2 separate regions of the Homo sapiens genome follow, and region 1 is linked to region 2. The links are contacts of gene promoters, found by promoter capture Hi-C in human tissues and cell types (Jung and others, 2019). All regions are on one chromosome and are shown on one strand. Each heading gives the region's core, a stretch centred on a gene start or on the middle of the fragment in contact. The rest is flanking DNA. Distances are from core to core; before and after follow the strand shown.

Region 1 (4,308 bases), core at 496-2,995, 160 kb after region 2:
GTCCACCTATTTATGTGGACTAATTATGTTTATATTCTCTGTAAAGTTTTAATTGTGAAAAAGGATTTGTGAGGTTGGTCTTAAGCTGTAGCCAATGTGGTATGCTTTGCATGTCTGTGTGGTCAGTAGCAAACTTTGCTGCACACCTCCATCTTGTTTTATGTCCTGAGGGCATATGTCCTGAGGGTGTGGCCTGTAACCACATGGCAAGGCTTTGTTTAGCAATCCTGCCTAGGGAATGAGTCCTTTCTGGTTTGATATCTGCACATTTTCCTAGCCCTGTCTCTTAAAGGGCTCCACCCAGCGACTGGGTTTTCTTCTGCCTGTCTGTGTAGCTATATATGTGTTATGTATATGATGTCTGTAAAAAGAGCTCTAATTAATTTGGCCTAAAGGAAGACAAGCACTTGAATCAAGTATTTTTTTAAGGGAAGATAAAAGCTGTGGTAACTTTCAGTTCAAGCGACTTTAATCTTTGAGAAATAAGGCAGTCGTAAAGGTTATTGGTAAAATGCAGATGTCATCAAAATATAAATAGGTGGACTAAATTATGCAGGTTAGATACTAGAGTTGCTAAATGTTTTAAGGTTATAAACTGCCTTTTTGGTTTTTGAGAATGTTTCAATTTGTCAGCTTCACAATTGGTAATGCCAGGGGACATATGAAACTAACCACACCCTTAATTACGCTGGAAGAAGTCAAACCTTGGCTGCACCTAGCACACAATTAAAACAACTTACCAGGTTTTACATTAAAGTTAAAAACTGCTAGGAGTTACCATTATAACATATAATTGAAACTATTGGAAATAGATTTACATGCAAAGTGTGTGAAAACAGTAAAATGTGTTTTTAGTAAAAGATTATAAAAAGGCACGAAATTGTAAATTTTTGCCTAGGAGTAAAGGATTGTTTTGAATTAGACAAGATAAAGCTAAAGGTTAAAACAAGTGGTGGAAGGATTGTGGACATTAATCTTACAGAATAGTTTCTCTGTGTGAACATATTGACTAAATTCAAAAAAGTTATTCTGTAAATTGAGCATTGAAATAAAAGCACAACAAGGTATTCTTAAGGTGCTAATCTGCTCTTTAGCAAAATTTGTAAAGGTTTATAAAAGGCTTTTGCCTCTTTAAAATTTCTGAGTCATCATTTTGGCAAAATAAATAATTTATGGTGACCTGGAATACTGTTTTATAACATCAAGTGTTTTAAACCTCTAACAAATTTAACAGGCTTCCCAAAAATCAAACTTTGGTTCCGAAATTGTCTTTCCTGACTCCTGGCTTTTCAGATACTTCAGAGGGCCCCTGGAGTGTCCAGAAAAGAGAGGTAAACATGTTTAGGTACATGGGACTGCCAAAATGATGTTCAATATACTTTAGGTAATATTTTTGTGAGTAATGCTAGCATATGCTCAAAATTATATGGGATTTCTACAATTCTAATGTCTGAGTATATGCTATCAATCATAATTAAGGTTGGTATGTTAGGTTATTGTAAATCACAGAGATAACCAAACTTCTTTGTCAATTGTGTTTCTAACTGTAACTACCCTGGACATTTTGTTATTCACAGACAATGGTTGTCTTGTTTTAATGCTTTTCAAAAGATGGTTTATACTGAGCTATAGAACTTTGACAGGTCCTCTCAAATACAGGTTTCTGATAACTTTGGAGATTGTAACATTGGAATAAAGGAAAAATGTACATGACTCATGAAGAGCTGAAGTGTTCATGAATATCAAGCAAAACTAGAACTAATGGACTGAACTCAAAACTGAAACAATCTTTTTAACTTTTGTTGGAATATTGCTGATCCCCGTTTTGTTTTTCAGGGTTAAGAAAACTTATTTTGAAGTATTTACAGCCTTTAATAACTGAGTAAGCTATACTCCTGTGAACAAAATTTGGAGCCTATTTGTCTCTCTCTCTCTCTGCCTGGTTCCTCTAGAATTTGGAAACTATCTGTGAGTATTCTTAACTTATGGCAATATAGTTGTTTGCATCAGTGCAGTAAGAATCCATTTTTCTTTTGCAACAGGATGCAAGTGGAGAAACCAGTTGTTTTACCAAGGGTTTGATTATAAGGGTATGCTTCTCTTTGAGGAGTCAAGCTTGACTTGCAGAGCTGATAAAACCCCGCAGGAAAAACTGTCCTCATACCCTTGTCTACGCAGTCCCTGTACAGGGTTCCTGACCTGTGATCAGTAAAGAATGTCACTTTCTAACTGGCCAAGGATCTCCAAGTTTATCTTGGGACCTTAAGAGGAATGGATCACCCAACTCACAGTTATTTGTGGATATAAAACCATGGTTGGGCTTGGCTTTAAAAGATATCATCTGAGATTCCTTGTGGAACAGAATTCCATCAAAGCCAATCTAAAAGGTCTATGTAGAAATAGTTATTCTTGCTGCAATTTATGCAAATAATCAGGCCATATATAAAACTAAAGTCTATTTTTGCAAACAACTCAGTCCTATCAGACACAGTGCAGGTGAGCATGGCTAATTCCTGCCGATTAAGCCAAGCCTTCCATTTCATGGATAAGGATCATGCTAGTATCCATGGTATAAATGGGGTCTAGTGAATTCCAAGGCTGCTGATGTAGGGGAAAAAGAGACATAGATAAAAGCAGATAATTCCTATTCTCTAGGCCTTCCCTTCTTCATGAGTGTAAGCTGCTTTGGCACCAATGGGCAGCACCTGCCAAGGTTGCTGGGACTTGGGGATGCAAGGATGGAGGAGGGAAAGAGGATGTTCTTCTTTTTCTCCCTCATGTATCCTGGTATTTGCTAGGAAAAGAAGGGAACCAGGGACACCTGTTCTGCTCTTTCTAGGTGGGTAGCCATTCATCTTCAGTCTGTATCCCTTTCAAATGCATCTTGAATCCGTGGGACTCCTTTGGAAAAAAATGCTTTCTTCTTTCCTTTTTCCTCCTCTGTCCTCTCCTCATTGATGGGTAATTGTGTCTCTGTACTATGGGACACTCCCCTCAAATGCATTCTCCAAACTGGGGAAAGTTAATTTCCCAAACCTCAAACTGGTTGGCTTAGGACAGGGCTCAGGTGAAGGGAACCCAGAAGCCCAACATGCTGGCAAAAGGGTAAAGTTTTTTTCACCAGTTGGGCTTTTGGCCTCCCGCTCCCTGTGCAAACTGGTAAAAGGCCTCAGAATTTTTAAGTTGTCCTTAACCCGCCCCCCGGCCCCGGCCTTGTTTTATTTTGATACATATTTTCTAATAATCCAGTTTTTCTCTTCTCCCCTTCAGTCCATCAAACTCCAAATGGTCATGCAACTGGAGCCTTGGACAATGGCCCATTCTGCCAGGCTCCCTTAGATAGGCCTCTGAGGGAGCTCTGATGGCCATTTTCCCCAAAACAATGTCCCTTGTCAGTAGAAAGCAGTTAAGATTGGTCTTTGATCTTATCCTTCTTTTAAAGGCAGTTAGATGTACTTCTTCAGAGGGGGAATGAGACAGCCAAATAGGAGAGGGACCCAGAAAAACTCCAACCGGTCTGCACACTGGGAGGAGTGCGCACTGGCATGGAGCTTCAGGAAGTTCACGCTGTTTGCAAGAGGGGAGCCTGGCCTCTCCTCATCCGGTGTGGCAACCTGGGTATTCAATCTGAGATGGGGCCTGTTAACAGGAACCTCTCTCTCTTTGCTGAGTTTTTTTCCTTTCCACCAAAAAAACCCTGCCCTCCTCAAATTGTCTGCAAGCCTAATTTTTTGTGTTCATGTGACAAGGACCCTGTCTTTAGCTGAACTAAGGAAAAATTCCTACAACAGCGCCATCCCCAAATTCCTGGGTTTGGCTGGTGATAAGAGGACATCAGAAAGGACATCAGAAACATAAGTGATAGCAATATAACTTTCTGGAATAAAACACTTTCCAGTACAATAAGTAGGCTTTCCCAAGTCTTTGTTATACCACAGTGGCCTATAAGGTTTCTTGTTGTTGCCCTCAGCTCCTGGAAGAACAGAATCATTCTTGTCAGCTTTGCTTGTAATTCTTTCTCATTATGTCAGTTAGAAAGACAGGTGCTGTTTTAGTCAGTTGCTGGATGTGGCTGGATGTGGCTGAGAATCAGCTGAGATGGTTGCAAAGAGCCCTCAACTCAAAAATATATGCAGGTGACTCATGACCCTGGTCACTCTCTAGCTTCTGGAAGAATTTGGTGGATCTGTTTCTTTGCATGTAAAACAAAGAAAAATGATACTTGCATACTTCTCTGAACTTTCTCAGAAAGTTCTGAGAAAAGTGACTTCATAGTAAGATATTTTGAATTTGGTATGGAGGTGGTCC
Region 2 (4,128 bases), core at 710-3,209:
GAGGGGGGGTGGCGCAAGCTACTAGAGGGAGCCCAGGCTTTTACAATAGCGGCCCCAGAACAGCAAAGGAAGGTTCCGAATAAAGTTTGAAGGGGGTGGGGGTGGGAGAAGAAGCGCGTGTGCGTGAGTGTGGGTCTTTGCACTCTGCCCCTTTTTTCATTTCATACAACCACAGACAGATATATGGAGTACTTGGGATAATTCACTAATAAATCCTTGTTACAAGGAAAACGGCACCACAGCCTGCACGACATATTCAGACAAGATTCATTTAGAAGCGTGCATGCATTCTTTTGACCTACACTGCGTCGAAAGGAAAACCCACATAGGAGGTGTCATGCCCTGGACCTCGGTTGAGATTCAAAACTTGGGTCTTGATCTCTCTCGCGCTCTCTCTCTCTTTCTCTCTCCATTGTCTCTAGAAAAACTGTGGCAAGGACAGAGACAATCATAATCGCATCCATCTCAAGAAAATATTTACATTTGTTTTGCACAAAAGGGATGGCCGTCTTTTTCCAAAGCGAGAACACAGAGTCAGAGAAAGCCAACTCAAAAGTCCCTTCGCAAGTTTTTAACTACACCGATCCCATCTTTATACAACAAATGCAGTTTTGACAAGAGCATATGGCAGTGAAAAATACTGGCGCGGCATGGGGAAAAGAAGCATGCATGCAAAACACACGACATCTGGTTCGAGTCCCCCTTTGCTACCACCTAGAAATTGCGGTTTGATTTTGGTCCTTTCCCTCCGGGGGTCAAGTGGAGTCTGAGATCTCTCAGACAGCGTGGGAGGCTGCGGGCCCCGGAGCCTGCCCTCCCGTGGGCCGAGCGTGCAGCCTCCCTCTTCCCTCCCGGCCCGGCACCGCGGCCCCTCCCGCCGCTCTCCCTCCTCCTTGGCAGCCGGGCCCGCCCGCTGCTCACTTGAGCAAGTCCTTGGACTCGGCCGACAGCCGGGCCATGTTGGCTGTGGAGAGAGCGGACAGGTGCGGCGGCGGCGGCATCTGGCAGATGGTGCAGGGGCAGGGCAGACCAGCCCAGTGCTGGAAGCCGCTGCCCAGCTGCAGCGCGGGCGGCGTGGAGGGCGCCTTGAGTAGCGAGTGGGGAGGCCGGATGGTGCCGATGGCGGGAAGTGAGGCGGCGGACAGCGGTGACGAGGCGTTGCCAGATGAGAGCGCGCCGCCCAAGATGGGGTGCACCGGGTGCACGGAGTTGGCCGCGTGCGCGGGGTGGCCGGCCGAGTGGCCCACGGTCCCGCAGTGAAAGGCCGAGTGGTGGCCCCCATAGATCTCGCCAACCAGCCTCTTCATCTCCTCCAGGGAGCTGGTGAGCATGAGGATGTAGTTTCTGGCGAGCAGGAGTGTGGCGATCTTGGAGAGCTTGCGCACCGACGGCCCATGCGCGTAGGGCATGACTTCGCGCAGCCCGTCCATGGCTAGGTTCAGGTCGTGCATCCGCTTGCGTTCGCGTCCGTTGATCTTCAGCCTCAACTGCTGTAGGTCCTGCTCCGACAGCTGCTTCTTGATTTTGTACTTGCTGCTCTCTCCCGCGGCCTTGGCGCCAGCCCGCGAGAGGCTTTCCCCGGGCATCTTCTGCATCATATCGCCCTGCGTGGACGAGACCGAGTTGAGACGGCTCTCCTGGTGGTGGTGGTGGCGGTGGTGGTGGTCCCTCAGGTACATCTCATCCATGTCCGGAGATGAAGCTCTGCTGGAGACAGAGCTCGAATCAGAATTCATTTTATTACAGGGGATGCGGCCCTACCGTGGGGAGGCTTTAGGCGGGAAATTAAAGAAAATCTTGAATTAAAAAAAAAAAATCTGCACTGCCCAGGAACCCACTTCTCCGCGGCAAGACGTGAGAAGAAAAGCGGAGACGCTGCTTTTCCCCGCCTCTCTCCCTCCCACGCCCCTCTCTCTGGTTAGGCTGCTTCCTGGACAGCTAGTTGGTGTGTGCTTGAACTAACCTCACGCTGAAAAAGAGGGGCTTTTATAGAGCTGCGGCGGAGAAAAGAGACAAAAGGAGCCCTCCTATCTATCCTGGGCTGGTTAGGATGACGTGCCATCATTCAGGGCGGTGCGCTTTGCTGTCCCATTTAGCAAGGATTCCTATTCATATTCATTGTGGGGCCGCCCTGGGACACCTCTGCTCCGAACCGCTAGGAGCCCCCAGGCACAAAACCCTCTGATTGACACACTCACCGCTCCAGCTTACGCCTTCCTGATTTTTTTTTTAACTTTCTTCCACCCCACCCCCCTTCCCAATTTCTCTAACCAAATCACACATCAGGAACGGAAGGAAGGCAAGAGAAGGTGGCCAGGCGGTTGGTGGAGGTTCCTCTGAGTTTGGAGAGAGGAATTGAAACATTCGCTCTCCTTTCTTTCCTGGCTGCTCCCAAGTTTAGAGAAATATGGGCAAAAATAGGTCTCAGTGGAAAGGTTTGAGGGACAGAGGTGCGGTCGGAGGGAAGGTGCTGCCAGCGGGGGCTGGGGGTGGTGGGAAGACTGCATGCCGACTTTCTCTGTCTCAATATTTTTTTTTCATTAGATCTCTTTTCCTAAACACTTCCATTCTGTCAATTTTGTTTATTGGGCCCTTCTGGTGTGGTTTCAACGGGATGTCCATGTTCGGTGATGGCTTTGCTCCTGGCAGTATTGTGGCGGAGAGGTCTCTTATTTTCTGTGTCCTCTCTTTCGTTTTAAAACATGGATTTCTAAAAGAATTTCAGTTTTGCACAATTCTTTAACTTCCTAGACCAAAAACTGCGAAAAAAAAATGTTAATGTCACAAGAAAAGCAACTTGGGAGGATGGGAAGGAAAAGGAGCCAAGGAGGCAGAGAGAGAGATTGTTAGGTTCCTGAGAGCTCCAGAGAGATTGTTCCCACTCCAGGCTTCCTGGACCTTGGCGCTGGCGCAAAACGGTGGGACGGTCCGCGCCCGAAGCTCCGCCGGGCCTCCTCTGGCCGCTGTGCTGACGTGCCCCGAGCTCCGGGAACTCAGCGGCACCCCGGCCTGCGCGGGTGGGTCCACCAGGCTGGGGCCGCCGTACGGCGTCGGACAGGGAAATCAGAAGCTCATAATAAACTATCTGATGTCGGGGTGGTGGGGCGGGGGGGTGGGGTGCGTGGGCAAAGAAGCACGGGGGAAGGGAAACAACGAAAGGACCTAGAAAGCCCCTTGTGCGTGCCCGGGCACTGCGGTTCAGCGCAGAGTCGTTTCTGGGAATAAAGAGGAGGTCGGAGTTTGGAGCCTTCGGTGCGAGTGCGGAGGTGGGCGTAGATCTTTCTTCCCCCTTGCTGTGTTTTTGTGATCAAGACTTTAGCTCAGCAGCACGAGGGGCGGGAAGGCAGAAATCCCGGGAAGGGAGAGAGCCCCAGGAGTGGTCTCTAGAAGAACCCGGACACCGCCCCTCTCCCGGCTTGGTGGAACGGGAAACAAACGCTAGCTAGTGACTGAGAGTCTCGGTGGAAGTGTGAAATCGAATCAATCGCGGAACCTCGGGCACTTGGGGCCTCTTGCGCCGCTGAGTCACTTCGAAGAACAGGATGCCCCCCTTTCCCTTGACTCAAACCGAGCGGTCAGTGGGAGAGGGATGCGCGCCCAGGTCCGGAGTTTGCACGCTCTGAGGCTGTGCCCCACTGACAGTCACGCTGCGAAGGCAGCTCTGGCCAATACCAGAAGGATGGGCAAACGCAACATTGGCATGGATGCTTTTGCTACACCGAATTTTGTTTTTCTGTAATGGGGGAAAAATGGCCAACAGCCCTTCGTCAAGGCCAGGAAGTTAGTGCTCTTGCAGATTGGACAGGAGCCTCTTCTACCACCTTCATCTCGGTGGAAGGAAAGTTTCTTAATTCAAGAGGTTAGATTGGATGTGGAAAGACTAATGTCCAAAAGCATTCCTAATACCAAGCATAAAGAATGTTTCTTAATTCACCAGACTCGCCAATAAGATAGTGACATACACTAAGTCTTCCTGGTTATTTAAAAAAGGAGGGGAGGGGGGAAGTGCTCCAGAACTTGTGCAGTCCCAGGTGATGGGAGGAAGCTAGTGGCTAGTCCTAACGACAACCCTCTGCGACTCCCCTGCTGATCAAATGGGGTGAGGAGAGAGAGGCGGACGGGGGAGGG

What was found. Contacts are between HindIII fragments. The study calls those that stand out against the background at their distance.
Region 1: a contact is called between a fragment that was not itself captured here and the fragment with the promoter of OLIG3 in region 2, in 1 of the 25 tissues and cell types used here (neural progenitor cells).

The regions. Positions count from the first base shown.
Region 1 is chr6:137,653,350-137,657,657 of GRCh38, forward strand. No RefSeq gene overlaps it. Among named protein-coding and RNA genes, the nearest start is that of LINC03004, 10 kb to the right of the region's middle. RefSeq lists an enhancer at 1-112. The HindIII fragment of the contact is 7,145 bases long and covers 1-4,308 here.
Region 2 is chr6:137,492,435-137,496,562 of GRCh38, forward strand. OLIG3 (oligodendrocyte transcription factor 3) reads right to left here and starts at 1,960. Exons shown (of 1, transcript NM_175747.2): 1 at 1-1,960. The coding sequence starts at 1,736. The coding sequence ends at 918. RefSeq lists enhancers at 870-1,369, 3,051-3,584, 3,585-4,117. The HindIII fragment of the contact is 10,277 bases long and covers 1-4,128 here.